Linked DNA regions of Homo sapiens: all the other regions are linked to region 1. Evidence: promoter capture Hi-C in 16 types of primary human blood cells and fetal thymus (Javierre and others, 2016). All regions are on one chromosome and are shown on one strand. The core of a region is centred on a gene start or on the middle of the fragment in contact, and the rest is flanking DNA. Distances in the headings are between cores, read along the strand shown. Region 1 holds the start of ERI1 (exoribonuclease 1). Region 2 has its middle 43 kb from the start of CLDN23. Region 3 has its middle 190 kb from the start of PPP1R3B-DT. Region 4 has its middle 25 kb from the start of CLDN23. Region 5 has its middle 41 kb from the start of CLDN23.

Region 1 (2,924 bases), core at 162-2,661:
AACCCACTTACAGGATGAGATTGACAACGTATCTCAGGCTGAAGAGGGAGGCAGGTGGAAGAGTGGTTCTTTACAAGAGAAGGGATGTGCAAGTACTCTTTGAAATAACAACCTTAGAAGGAGAAAGATAATTGCAAGGATCCAAAGGAAGTGCACACAGGGCAAAAGGAACATACAGAGATCCTTAACGAGACCTTCTTTCCAATGTCAAAGAACACAAGGCAGCGAGGGGCACTGGGAACAAAAGGGAAAAAACTGTGTGAGATGCAATTACCAAGGGAGGCAGGCACCCGACCCCGCAGAGCAGCAAATGGAAGTGACTCAGGAGGGGAATAAGCCAAATTCATGTTATTGAAAAGCTCATTCTAGCTGCCAGATGGAAACTGACTGTGGACGGAAGGAGCAAGAGTTAGGAGGCCTCTTGCAAATACGCACTTTATGAAGCTTTACGAAGTGTTCAACATGTTTATTATTAGGAAAAGATCAATTTTAGTATTCAATCACTTACAATCCGCAGCGCTAGTCAACAATTAACATTCGTTAAATAAGTTTTAAGACTGTTCTACAACTTTGCCACTGTAACTAAGTTCAACCGATGAGATGTCAAAATGATTCATTCAATCTTATACTATGGTTATATGAGACACCAGTTAATGAGCAAAAGCAGCTAAGACGAAGCTCCACTTAACAGGTACAGAGACAGGGATGCTGGTGAGTGCTTTTTAAATTTTTTCTTTTTTTAAAAACAGGCATGAAGTGACATACCTAGCGTATATGGTGAGATTTTAAAAACATAAAGCCTTGCAAACTACCCATAACGGCTACATGGAGTGACAACAGCAACCGTGAACACAGAATTAAGTTTAAAGCAAAACTCCCTCTTAGAACCTGTTAACCCACTGTAGACAGAACTGGTCTTGACGATTTCCTCCCTCCCAGAGAGTGATTCGGCCCTGAGGGGGCTCCAAGACACCCACCCGAGGATAAAGCCAGGGAGCTGGGCACCGAGGAAGAGGCTGGGGTCCAAGGGCGCACAGCTGCACCTTCTGCGGGACACCTGAGAAGAAAGGGGTGCCGAGGGCGCTTTGGGGACGGGGCAGCTGGCGCCAACAGCCAGGCGCGGGTCGACTCCTCACCTCGGGACTGGGACGCGGCGGCTCCTCCCCGCCCTCCGGCCGCGGCGACTCCAGCAGCGCGAGAGCCACGGCCTCGCCGGCAGGCTCTTTACTCTGTGGATCCTCCATGCCGGCTGTCACGCCAGAGGAGAGTTGCTGGAGCCGGACACTTGCTAACTCTCACTCTGCAGAGCCCGAAAGCCTCGCCTTTCTCCGTTGAAAAATTACCGGGCTCGCGTTCCCGCGGCGGCGGCCACACAAACTCCAGCGGCCACCTCCCACTTCCGGGAGCGTGTGGCGTCCACACGCCGGGCAGGCGCAGTGAGCCGGCGTGCGCGGAACGCCAGCGCCGCAGTCCACAGGGGGAGGGAGGACGAACAAGAGGGAGGCGCGCCGGTGAGAAGACGGGGCGTGGCCGGCCGTAGGCGGAGCTAGCGCGGGTTGAAGTTGCGCAAGGATCTAGTCCAGTCACTGGAGGGTAGCACCGGCACGTGTGTTCCCGTCAGTGTTTCCTGAGAAGGAAAAAAGTAGGGTGAGTGGGAAGATATCATAGAGAAAGATGTTTTCGACCATAAAAAATAATAAAACAATTCACATTTTCCATAAGGAGTTTCCTAAAACTTCCACTCTGGGCAAGAAAAGAAAATGGGTCGGGACTTAGTGTCCCACTATAAACAATTAGAAAACGGAACAAAATATAGGAGACACCTATTCAGACATTGGACAACGGACAGCTGTGGACTGTTTTACCTGAGAGAAAAGAAATAAAAGGAGCCGTATATCATCCTGCCCTTTTGCCCAGAGGCGATTTCCAGTCTGTGGTGCGATGAAAGGAAATCATATGGAAACCTAGGATCTCCTGGGTTGAAAAGACAGAGATTGGAGTTGACGAAATTGGGGTAGGCCAAGTCGGTTGGAATTTGTAGGGCAGAATTCTGGAGAGGAGGGAATTACATGGAAAAAGAGCTTCAGAAATCTGCTTAGGAGTACCTTGAATCTTTAACTGAATAAAAAACGTGAAACTCCACAAGGCCAGGAAAGAACAATTACTGGGGAGCAGTACACCAAACAATGGTGAGAGGTCACACAGAACTGGGAATCATTTGAGCTCCCAGCAACCAGAGTGAAGAGATTATTGAATACCATGGAACACGCAATAGAAACCTCAGATGTGAAACTGCCATTGCAAAATTATCATTGAGACAGTGAAAGAGATCAGACCTAACCAACTCCATCTTGCTTTTAACCTCCAGGCTATCCTTATTCATTCCTAGGCGTAGGCCAAACTAACACTGGGAGGAACTTAGTGTATAGCTTATAGTTTAAAACAAAGGTGATAGCCCTTTCTCAAAATAAACCCTCTTCTTGAGACTAGACTGCTTTTGTAGGACTAGTAAATTAGCCGAAAGATTAGAAATTATGATTTAGGACTCATGCAGCTGAAGGCTACAAGATTCTAACCCTCTCCAAATTGCTCCTGGGGATAATATCACTATTGTAAAATCTAAGATCAGTGCTTGAGATATTTTGCAGGCCCTGCACTTGATGGATCAGCTGGCACCTCCCAGATTGATAAACTGACTCACCTGATCTTGGATAAACTAGCTCATCTGATTTTGTGTCCCCCACGGGAGGAACTGACTCAGTGCAAGAGGACAGCATCGACTCCCTATGATTTCATCTCCTACCCAACCAGTCACCACTCCCATCTCACTGGCTTCTCACCCACCCAATTATCCTTAAAAACTCTGATCCCCAAATGCTCAGGGAGACTGATTTGATTAATAAAACTCAGGTCTCCTGCACTGC
Region 2 (2,924 bases), core at 125-2,624, 340 kb after region 1:
TAATTATTGAAATCTCCAAGTATAATTTTGGATTTATTTTGTTCTCTTTGTAGTTCTAACAATTTTTGCTTTATGTAGTTTGAAGCTCTGTTATTGTGTGCCACTGTTACTAATTTGCCACTCCAATTTTCTTTTGATTAGTATTAGTATGGTATATCATTAAAAATAATTTTTAAATTATTTTACTTTACCCATGTTTTAATATATAAAGAACATTTCCTTCTCCTCTTCTTCTTCTTCTTTTGACTTAACAACAGAAATTTATTTTTTCACAGTTCTGGAGGCTGAAAGTCTGAGATCAGGGTGCCAGCATGTTTGGGTTCTGGTGAGGGCTCTCTTCCTGGCTTGCCAACAGCCACCTTCTCACTATGTGCTTACATGGCCTTTCCCTGGTGCCAGTGTGGGTGGGGGCCAGGAGAGCAAGAAGAGCATGTCTTATAGACAGTATTTATTTCGGTCTAGATTTTCAATCCAGTCTGACCATTTCTGCAGTTAATCAAGATTGTTTAGCTCATTTACATTTAATGTGATTATTGATATGATTAGGTTTAAATCTGCCATCTTGCTGTTTGTTTTCTAGATGTCCTATCTGTTCTTTACTCACTTTTTTCTATTTTTGCCATCTTTTGAATTAACTGATCCTTGAAATAATTTTTTTTTTATTATTGGCTTACTAACTATAAATCTTTTTGTCATTTTAGTAGTAAAATATAGTGTATATAGTTTATAGTGGAGAGCATATAATTCTAATTTTTCACTGTCTTCTTTTGTCTGACCTACCACTTTATGTGTAAGAATCATACAATAGAGGCTGGGTGTGGTGGCTCATGCTTGTAATCCCTGCACTTTAGGAGGTCAAGGTGGGTGGATCACGAGGTCAGGAGTTTGAGACCAGTCCGGGCAACACAGTGAAACCCCATCTCTACTAAAAATACAAAAAAAAATTAGCTGGGCATGGTGGGGGGCACCTGTTATCCCTGCTACTTGGGAGGCTGAGGCAGGAGAATTACTTGAACCCAGGAGGTGGAAGTTGCAGATCCGAGATCGTGCTACTGCACTGCAGCCTGGGTGACAGAGCTGAGGTCAGCAGATCGAGACCATCCTGGCTAACATGGTGAAACCCTGTCTCTACTAAAAATAGAAAAATTTAGCCAGGCATGGTGGCAGGTGCCTGTAGTCCCAGCTACCCAGGAGGCTGAGGCAGGATAATGGCGTGAACCCAGGAGGCGGAGCTTACAGTGAGCCGAGATCGCACCACTGCACTCCAGCCTGGGTGACAGAGCGAGACTCCATCTCAAAAAAATAAAATAAAATAAAATAAAAAGAATCACAGAATAGAATATTTCTATTTCCCCCTCCTGGTTGCTCTGCTAGCACTGTAATATATTTTACTTACACGTATGAAGTTTAACTACATTGTTCTTATTTTTGTTTAAATATTCAGTTATCTTGTAAATAGATTTAATAAGAAAAATCACATATAGTTACAATTTTTGGTGTTCCTTTTTTGTGAAGCTCCTTACTTCCTTCTGCCTAAAAGACTCTAAAATGTCTTGCAGTGTGGATTTGCTAGTGAATTCTTTCAGTTTTTCTATGTTTGAAAACATCTTCATTTCATCTTTGTTTCTGAGAGATATTCTTGCTTGGTGTAAAATTCTAGCTTGATAGTTTTTATCTTTCAATGTTTTGAAGATGTCTGTTGGCTTACATTGTTTTCTATTAAAAAAATCTATTCTCATCTTTATTTTTGTTTCCTCTTTATGTAACATCTTATTATTTTCCTCTGGCTGCTCTAATATTTTGTGTCTATTATTGATTTCTTTAACAATTTGATTATGATATGTCTTAGTGTTTTGTTTCATGCTTCTTTTGCTTGGGGGTTTGTTGAACTTCTTGGATCTGTGAGTTTTTAGTTTCAATTAAGTTTGCAATGTTTTCAACTGTCATTTCTTCAAATATTTGTTCAGTTGCCTCTCCTCTCCTCTGGCAACTCCACTGCACGTGTATTAGGCCAGTTGAAGTTGTCTCAGAATTCACTGATCCTCTTTTAATTAAAAATTTTTTTTCCAGACAAGCGTGGTGGCTCACACATGTAATCCCAGATTTTGGGAGGCCGAGGCAGGTGGATCACATGAGCTCAGGAGTTCAAGACCAGCCTGGTCAACATGGCAAAACGCCATCTCTACTAAAAAAACACACAAAAAAATTAGCCAGGTGTGATGGCACACACCTGTAATCTCAGCTACTCAGGAGGCTGTGGCAGGATAATTGCTTGAACCTGGGAGCCGGAGGTTGCAGTGAGCCAAGATTGCACCACTCTACTCCAGCCTGGGCAACAGAGTGAGATTCTATGTCAAAAAAAGAAAAAAAAAATTGTTTTTCCTCTCAGTGTTTTTATTTTGGATAGTTTCCATTGCCATGGTTTCAAATTTACAGATCTATTTTTTTGCTATGTCTAATCTACTATTAATCCCATCAATTTTTTAAATTTTTGATATTGTAGTTTTTTATTTACAGAAGTTCAATTAGAGTATTTTTGTTAAATCATTTTTCTCTACTTAACTTTTTGAATATCTGGAATATGGTTATAATTGCTCAATGTACTCGTCTACTAATGATAACATCTGTGTCAGTTTCGAGTCAGTTTTGAATTATTTCCCCCATCATGTGTTATATTTTCCTTATACTTTCTATGTTTGATAATCCTTATCAGATACCACCCGTTGTGGTTACTACCATTTTTGGATACGTGATACTTTGCTTTCCTATAGCTGTTCTTAAGCTTTTCTCTGGGATGCAATTAAGTTGCTTGGGTATAGTTTGAGCCCTTCAGATTTAGATTTCATAATTTGTGAGGTGGATCTGGAGCAGTGTTTGGTCTGCGGCTAATTATTTCCCACCGCTAAGACAGAATGTTCATGAGT
Region 3 (2,924 bases), core at 302-2,801, 330 kb before region 1:
TCTCGTATCTATGATATGAGAGCTATCATAGATCTCTGTAGATATATGTAGATCTCTCATGTCTATGATAGGTAGTTATATAATCTCATATATATGAGATTTCATATATATGAGATATTCATGAGATGAGTGTAGATATATGTACATATGTCTCATATTGCATGCATATATCATATATGTAAATACATACATACATAAATAACCTGTATATGTCTATGAATACACATAATGTCTGCTACGCTGGGTCTAATATGCTCATATTCCCTAGGGATATTTTTCCTGGGCTGTGTTTTCCTTTGCATGCCCACAGCCTAGAAGTTTGAAGCGCTTGTCAGGAGGAGGATTCATTTTCCCAGAGGACAGTAGTAACTGAAAAAAAATGAAATAAAATGAATACTACCTGTAGTGAGCAGGTCTGTCCATGAGGTGGTGGTGTTAGTATAATGGAAGCAGAAGGGAATAAGGTCAGGGCAGAAAGAGGCCCTCTGTTGGATTGATGGTGGAAGGATAAATCCATGCCCCTCCGTGAACTCCCACCCCGAAGCCTGACAGGTGCCTGGCTACTGGCTGCCACGGTGTAGGAAATTCGCACACGTAGCTTCTCAGCAGCTCCTAGACCAGCTGGCCTGGAGGCTTGGAAGCAGTCCAGGCAGAGGGGACACAGGATAAACCATCAGGAGCAACAGCTCTATCAAGTGGACTTGAGTAGAATGTTCTCATGGCACTTGGACACCCCTCACATTCTCCGGCCTGTAGGTGGTTTTCTTTGCCGCCCACTGAGGGCTGCAAGAAGCATTCCAGCCAACACACAAAGCCTGGCGCTGAGGCTCCTCCAGCTCAGCCTCCTGGGCAAGCTTTTCTGCCCTTTCCACACACATCTGCAAGCTCCTGCTGTTGGAATCCATAGAGATAGGACCCGGGCCAACAAAACATCTCTGCATATTGAAAGCATTCCCAAACACCACTTCTTTTGCAAGCAATGGCTGCTAAAGGCTGGACCACACCAAAGTAGATACTCCCTGTCTGCATGGTCTTTGAAGGGAGTAGAGATGCTATGAAAACAATTCACCACTGAAGCTTTCCCTGGTGCTAATCTTGCTTTCTAGTTTCTGAAGTTACATTTTTTATGTTTTTTTAAAAAAAGGTACCCTGTGTCTTCACCAGAGAGAAGGGAGAAGGAACCTTGACTGATTCTCTGTGGCAGGCACAAGATCTATCTTATCACTTTCAGTCCATTTAGCAACCCTGCTCTCTGAGGACTTCACAGACGGGGAAGCTGGGCTCTGAAGAGTGATGGAATTCGTCTGTAGTGTGCTCTGTAGTGGGCTCTGAAGGGTGATGGAACTCACATGTGTCAGCCACAGACCCAGATCTCTCTGGTTTCCTTTGTTTTGTTGACTACTTTGTTGATATTAAACAACTGGCTTTCCAATGAAAAGTAGTAACAATCATAGGATAACACCCTTAACATCTGTGTGTCCCTCTACAGTATACAAGATGCCTTTCCATTGCTGGGGCCCGGCCCAGCTTGGAGATCGGCCCCCTCTGCTCTGCTTCTCCCTGGCTCCACCTTGCCAGCTCCAGACTGCGCGTGTCCCCAGCGGAGCTGGTTCTCACTCCCTTTTGCAGACATGCTTCCTTGCTGGGCGACTTCACTGGAAGACTGTCTACTGATTCAGGGTGACAGGCTGTGCCAACGCCCCAGCCCTTGTGGGGCTCATAAATCCTGGGATGGTAGGCGCTAGAGAGGTGCACCTCAATGACAGCAAATTTGGCCTGTCTCTCGTTTTTACCCGGGGCTAGCCTTGACTGAGGCTGAGCAAAGTGTCAGTGATGAAGGACTTGTCAACACTGCCTGGCTTCCTTCCTCACTTGCCATCAAAGGTGGACTTTTGTCCAAAGCTCTTTAATTTGGGAATTAGGTCTTATGTGTAACTGCCAAGTTAAATTGGACCCAAGAGTGAATTTGGATCTGCATTGAAGAGGGAGTGGAAATAAGTAAGTTCTGGGGTGCCCTAAGCTTGGCGCATAATCATAAGAATAAAGACTGATGCTTTGAGCTCTTGCTGCAGGCCAGCTGTGTGCTAAGTGCTTCTTCACTCTGTCAGCTTCTTACTTCACAATCCTGTCAGGTACAGGCTATTCGTGCCCAGAGAAATGAGACGCTAAGAGATGATATGATTTGCCCAAGATCCCACAGCTAGCAATGGAGGCATTGGCATTTGAATTTGTATAGTCTGTACTGCCAGAATGGCCGCTGACCTCTCCAAGGCCATGTGGGAGGTTTTCGATGAGCCCTGAAGCTCTGTGGAGTTTCTGGCATCTGGGGGAGGCCTCTGTTTACATCCAAGCCTTGGGAGAAGCCCTTGGGAGGACCACATGGGGTGACAGCGCTGTGTTGGTGGCAGCCTGTCATGGGTCCTGAAGCCCAGCTTATTTTCTCTCTTTCTTTTCCTCCCTCCCAAATCCTTTCTGCCTTGCCTGCCATCCAGCAAATCAATTCCAATTGATTCCAAATGATAACATTTTATTGGAGTTTTGTTTATTTGAAGATCAATAGTGACAAGAATGTGGCAGTCTCCACCCTGAAAGACCATATTCAAGCACGCTTTTTTATCTTGACTTCAAGTCTCAACCTGGACTCCAGCCTACAGCCTCTGGTAGGCAGACTATCTTGTGCTCACCCTTGTCTTGGCAGCACAATCACATGCCCGTTTTGTGCGTTTGCCTTTTGGGCCCCAGTATACAAGAAATGGGCTTAATTGAAACTGTAAGTGAATTTGTCTGGAACACAGAAAACACTCAACAGCACATCTCCCTCGGACAGACACTGTCAGTCTAATCAGAGGCCTTGAATTATTAAAGCTCTCTAGCCACTTAGAGCTGCAGGTCACCAAGGCACCGAACACACTTGCCTGAGTGGC
Region 4 (2,924 bases), core at 237-2,736, 330 kb after region 1:
AATTCTAGGACGATTGCAAATAAATAAAAATGCTGTTGCCTTCAGTGCATATAATGATATAATGAATCGATTGTTTTGCATATAAATTCAAATATAGAGTTTTCTCAGCTCACACCAAATAGGTTACTATTCACCCCTAGGCAGATTTCTCCGGGCTGGTTTTCCCAGGGTCTCCCGTGGTTGCTCTGTCACACAACTGCAAGGGCACTGGCAACTTTGTGTTTTCTTTTCTTTTCTTTTTTCTTTTTTTTTTGAGACGGAGTCTTGGGCTGTCATCCAGGCTGGAGTGCAGTGGCGCGATCTCAGGTCACTGCAACCTCTCCCTCCCGGGTTCGAGTGATTCTCCTGCTTCAGCCTCCTGAGTAGCTGGGACTACAGGTGTGCACCACCACGCCTGGCTAATTTTTGTATTTTTAGTAGAGATGGGGTTTCGCCATGTTGGCCACGCTGGTCTCAAACTTCCGACCTCAGGTGATCCACCTGCCTTAGCCTCCCAAAGTGCTGGGATTACAGGCATGAGCCACCGTGCCCAGCCTATTTTGTGTTTTCTACCAGCCTCCCTCTAACACCATTCCTGGCATAGAGCAGACACTTAGTAAATATATGTCTTTTAATCTCAGTAAAATAAATGCTTGAGTTTATTCCTTTTAAGGGTAATCTGTCATGGTTTAAGACAAAATTGGACTTTCTATAGACTGTGTCAGCCTTGATAAGTCTTGAAATCTTGGGTACTACTAAGGTTACCAATTTTAAGAGTTAAAGCAACAATAACAGCAAAATACCTTTTGATGACCTAAAAACTTGTTGCATCATTTCATGTGAAAGATTTGAGAGGCATAGCTAGAAGAAAGACTGCCAGCTTGGAAACCAAATTCAGGCTTGATCAAGGCAGATACTGACCAGTGACTCAAAAGTGACAGAAAGCTTCCTGTATTTAATCAAAGATTCGAAGTCAACAAGTAACAGAAAGATACAAATAAGGCCGCTTAGGCTGCTTGGCATACGACTGCGTCATTCTGTTGAACAGGAAAACAAAAGTACTTGACCTTTGCTGTTGTATTTTATCGGGAGACATGAGGGTCCTGTGGAAACAGTTCAGGTCTCACGTAATAATAGCATTTGCTGTTCTTTAGGTTTTAAAAATTTTGATGCGTGAGGAATTCACTTTTCTGTTTCAGGTTTCTCATGCATAAAATGAGGACAATAATACCTGTAGCATGGTGCGATTGTAAAAATTGAGATAATACAGTATCCTGCGTGGTGCCATCTTTAAAATTTCTTCTGTGGATCGCACATCTCCTTTCCGCTACTGCTCTAGGGCTCTGCTTCTGAACAAAGCGTGTCCTCTCAAAAGACTTGATATTAGGCCTCCATTCTCACAGACTCTTGTCATCATCCTGCTCCAATTAGTTCTTTGGCTCTAGCCCATCAAGTTCCACAATGACCTCCATATCTGTTAAATCTCATGGTCAATTCCTGTCAATTTCCTGTCCTCAGAGCAGCATTTGACACAGCTGAACACTCTGCTTTTCTGGAAATGTAGTTTTCTCCAGGCTTCCAGGATTGCACTGTTGCCTGGAATTCCTCCACTGACACGACTCTTTTACTTATCTCCTTAGTTCCCTTCTCCTTGGTGGATTTCTAAATGTGGGGGTGCTCCAGGATTTTGATCTGGGATATCTTCTCCTCTGTCTCTCCCTGCTGCTAAGGCCATCAAGTCATCTTATGCATATGTTGAAGACCCTTAGCCTCTCATCTGAGCTCCAGAATTGCATATGGAATTGTCCACTTGGATTTCTAAGAGGCACCTCAAACTTAACATGATCCAAAGCAAACTGTCCATGTGAACTTCTCCCCTGTCTTCATCCCACCCACTTCTTGCCTAGTCTTCCTTTTCTTCCTGCATGGACCTCTCTTTAATTTAGCTGCTCAGACAAAAAACTAGAAGTCATCCCTTGTTTTTTTTTTTTTTTTTTTTTGTGATGGAGTTTCACTCTTGTTGCCCAGGCTGGAGTGCAATGGTGTGATCTCGGCTCACTGCAAGCTTCATCTCCTGGGTTCAAGTGATTCTCCTGCCTCAGCTTCCCGAGTAGCTGAGATTACAGGCGCCCACCATCACACCTGGCTAATTTTTGTATTTTTAGTAGAGATGGAGTTTTGTCATGTTGACCAGGCTGGTCTTAAACTCCTGACCTCAGGTAATCCGCCCGCCTTGGCCTCCCAAAGTGCTGGAATTACAGGCGTGAGCCACCGCACCTGGCCTAGAAGTCACCCTTGACCGCTTTCTTTTTCTTTTCATGTCCAGTGCATCAACAGGTTCTATCTGGGCAGCTTCCAAAATGTATCTTGAACCCAACCACTCTTTATCATCTCCCTGACTAAAGCTGTAATCCAAGCCACCATCACCGTTCATCTGGGTTCCTGCCAGTATCTTGTACCTTGATGGCCCAGTAGCCATACAGAAGCTATAGTTATCTCTTGAAAGCATAAGTCAGATCAGGCTTGAAAAGCCCGAAAGCTCTTACTACCCTTAGAATGGAATACCAACTCTTTGGCCTGGCCTGCGGTCCAACATGACCTGGTCCCCCGACTTGTTCTGCACATACCTCTTTCTCATTTTCCTCCTCACCCACTGTGATCTGGCCTCGGTGACGGTTTTTCTGTCTCTCTCACATGCTGTGCTTCTTCTTCCCTTAGAGCCTTTGCAGAGGCTCATCCCTCTTCTAGGAATTTGCTCCCTGAGGTTGTCACACCGTGGTCCTCTCTCATCATTTAGAGCTCAGATGTTATTTTCTCAGAGACTTTCCCTGTTGTGCTTTGCAAAAGGAGTCCCTCACACCATTCAAGCACTTCCCCATGGCCCTCCAGAACCTGGGGTTATATTTACTTTTTTTTCTTTTTTCATTTGTGATAGGGTGTTGCTC
Region 5 (2,924 bases), core at 243-2,742, 260 kb after region 1:
CTCTAACAAAAGCCCCTCAACAGGCTCACGCACTGACTGCTAGACAGAGCCTGGCTTCTTTGACGGGGTCTGCTATCTAACCCCCACCATGGGTGAACCGTCCAGAGCCTGTGCCCACACCTGCTCCAGAGGTCATGTGGGCTTGCAGTGCCCCTAAGACCCTGGCTCTTAGCCAAGCACATCTAATTCCCTTTGATCCTCCAATCTGACTTCCTCATGGAAGCTGTATGTGTCCTTCTGGCCCACAGTGAGGATAATAGGATGAGGCCCCTTGAAGAAATTGAGTCCTCTGATAAGAAGATACCAAGACAGGATTAGATGTGCAGGAGATTTCCTGCGGGAATGCCTGTGAAGGATGAAGGGGAGAAAGCAGGACCAGGCAAAGGAGCATCAGACAGAGATGCAGGCTGGCTTCTGTAGGGGAGAGGAGGAAGGAGGGAGGGCGGGGGACGAGGAGTTCCAGGCAGCAGTGCAGCTCTGCGGGCATTGCAGCCGGGCTGGAGAGGAGCTCCTGAGCCGAGGGGCCCATAGAGGAGTTCCAGTCATGGAGGACTTGGCAGAGAGCAGCTCAGGGCCAGGAGCAGCGGCTGGGGCTGTCAGTCAACTTGCTCCCTGCAGCAGGAGGCTGGGGCTGTGCATTTCCATGGCTGCTGTGCTTCTGAGCCTTTCGCCATTTGCTACTTTCTCATCGTGCCACGATGACTTGTTATTTAAGCTTGTGTGGGTAGTAATGATCATTATTAACGTTTATGGAGCATTTACTACATGCCCGATGCTGTGCTAAGTGCTTATTTGCTTAGGAGATACAAATGTCTCAGACCTCAAATTCAAGCTTTAGAAATTATTTTTTATCCCTGATTTTATATTTTGGGCCCACGTTGCACTGGTGATAGGAATGCAATCTTAGCCACTTCAGGTATTCTCCAGTTAATCCAGGAGTTTCTCACCTCCCTCCTTCCTCCTCTGGTTGCATCTGAGTTTCAAGGGGGTTTAGTGCCAAGGAGTGGGTGAAGGGCCTGGCCCCTGGGGCTTGTGTGCCCACCCTGGCATCTTTTGCTGAATCCTCATTCTCACTGGCCTCTGATCGTCTGTGCCCATTGGCACCTGGAAGATGTTCAAAGTTTATCTGGTTTCCTAGTGAAAGGCTTTCAGATAACCCTGCTTCCTCCTTTCTCCAGCTCGAGGCCTCTCTGGGCTGCTGGCCTCTGACCACATCTGTGCCCGTCTTGATGGCCACCTGTGCCAGGCTGCATCTGGAGCTGTCTCCTTAATGACTCCACACTGCCATTTATGTGTGACCCTTATGACATCTCCTTCATTTAGGGGCGAGAGATGCTGGGTCCTGCTGCTTTCCCAGGGGGCCACCCAGGAAATAGGGCCCAGGCTCCTTCTGCGTGCAGATTCTCAGCCTTCTCTGAGTGTTGTGTCCTTGCTTTGCCCATATACCCCAGTCTCTGGTTCACTCAGCAGCATTTTAGTGCTTGCTTCCCTTCTGACACCAGAGTAGCTATGATTACAAAGTCAAAAGGGCTGGGCCTGGTGGCTCATGCCTGTAGTCCCAGCACTTTGGGAGGCCGAGGTGGGCGGATCACTTGAGGACAAAAATTTGAGACCAGCCTGGCCAACATGGTGAAACCCTATCTCTGCTGAAAATATAAAAATCAGCTGGGCAGGGTGGCATGTGCCTGTAGTCCCAGCTACTCGGGAGGCTGAGGCAGGAGAATTGCTTGAACCTGGGAGGCAGAGGCTGCGGTGAGCCGAGATCATACCACTGCATTCCAGCCTGGGTGATAGAGCAAGAATCCCTCTCAAAATAAATAAATAAGTAAATAAATAAATAAATAGTAAAAAAATAACTGATGTTGCTGAGGCCGCAGAGAAAAAGGAGCTCTTCCACACTGTTGGTATGGATGGGGATGTAAATTAAATCAGCCACTGTAGAAAGCAGTTTAGAGATTTCTCAAAGAACTTAAAATAGAACGACCGTTTGACCCAGCAAACCCATCACTGGGTATATACCCAAAGAAATAGAAATCATTCTATCAAAAAGAGACATGCACTTGTATGTCCATCACTGTGCTGTTTACAATAGCAAAGACATGAAATCAACTTAGGTGCCCATCAATGGTGTACTGGATTTTTTTAAGCTTATAAGCAACAGAAATTTATTTCTAGTTCTTAAATAATTTCAACTTTTATTTTAGATTCAAGAGGTACATGTACAGGTTTGTTACCTAGGTATATTGTGTGACACTGAGGTTTGGGGTATGAACAATTCCATCACCCAGGTAATGAGTATAGTACCTAAAAGGTAGTTTTTAAACCCCTGAGGCCCGCCTGCCCTCTCTCCTCTAGTGGTTCACAGTATCTGTTGTTCCCATATTTATGTCCATGAGTACCCAATGCTTAGCTCCCACTTGCAAGTGAGAACATGTGGTTATTTGGTTTTCTGTTTCTGTGTTAATTTGCTTGGAATAATGGCCTCCAGCTGCATCCTCTTAGCTGCAAAGGATATAACTTCATTCTGTTTTTATGGCTGCGTAGTATTCCGTGGTGTATATGTATCACATTTTCTTTATCCAATCCACTGTTGATGGGCATCTAGGATGATTCTTTGTCGTTGCTATTGTGAATAGTGTTGCAATGAATATATGAGTGCATGTGTCTTTTCGGTAGAACGATTTATTTTCCTTTGAAAATATACGCAGTAGTGGGATTGCTGGGTCGAATGGTAGATCTATTTCCAAGTTTTTTGAGAAATCTCCAAACTGCTTTCCATAGTGGCTGAAGTAATTTACATTCCTGCCAACAGTGTATAAACATTCCCTTTTTTTCTGCAACCTTGCCAACATCTGTTATTTTTTCACTTTTTAATAATTGCCATTCTAACCGGTATGAGATGGTATCTCATTGTGGTTTTGATT

What was found. The method cuts DNA at HindIII sites, captures the fragments that hold promoters and counts their contacts. A CHiCAGO score of 5 or more calls a contact.
Region 2: a fragment that was not itself captured here is called in contact with the fragment with the promoter of ERI1 in region 1 in 2 of 17 cell types (total B cells and naive B cells); the score reaches 5.7 in total B cells.
Region 3: a contact is called between a fragment that was not itself captured here and the fragment with the promoter of ERI1 in region 1, in 1 of 17 cell types (M2 macrophages). The highest score is 5.7, in M2 macrophages.
Region 4: a fragment that was not itself captured here is called in contact with the fragment with the promoter of ERI1 in region 1 in 3 of 17 cell types (naive B cells, total B cells and M0 macrophages); the score reaches 13.1 in naive B cells.
Region 5: a fragment that was not itself captured here is called in contact with the fragment with the promoter of ERI1 in region 1 in 16 of 17 cell types (total B cells, non-activated CD4 T cells, fetal thymus and 13 more); the score reaches 18.6 in total B cells.

The regions. Positions count from the first base shown.
Region 1 is chr8:9,001,384-9,004,307 of GRCh38, reverse strand. It overlaps ERI1 (exoribonuclease 1), which reads right to left and starts at 1,411. Exons shown (of 7, transcript NM_153332.4): 1 at 1,137-1,411. The coding sequence starts at 1,244. LOC105379227 (a long non-coding RNA gene) reads left to right here and starts at 1,566. Exons shown (of 3, transcript XR_002956680.2): 1 at 1,566-1,647. The HindIII fragment of the contact is 5,155 bases long and covers 447-2,924 here.
Region 2 is chr8:8,657,284-8,660,207 of GRCh38, reverse strand. No RefSeq gene overlaps it. Among named protein-coding and RNA genes, the nearest start is that of CLDN23, 43 kb to the left of the region's middle. The HindIII fragment of the contact is 2,820 bases long and covers 1-2,784 here.
Region 3 is chr8:9,335,976-9,338,899 of GRCh38, reverse strand. No RefSeq gene overlaps it. Among named protein-coding and RNA genes, the nearest start is that of PPP1R3B-DT, 190 kb to the right of the region's middle. RefSeq lists an enhancer at 246-1,179. The HindIII fragment of the contact is 943 bases long and covers 1,080-2,022 here.
Region 4 is chr8:8,675,031-8,677,954 of GRCh38, reverse strand. No RefSeq gene overlaps it. Among named protein-coding and RNA genes, the nearest start is that of CLDN23, 25 kb to the left of the region's middle. The HindIII fragment of the contact is 1,120 bases long and covers 927-2,046 here.
Region 5 is chr8:8,741,174-8,744,097 of GRCh38, reverse strand. No RefSeq gene overlaps it. Among named protein-coding and RNA genes, the nearest start is that of CLDN23, 41 kb to the right of the region's middle. The HindIII fragment of the contact is 1,315 bases long and covers 835-2,149 here.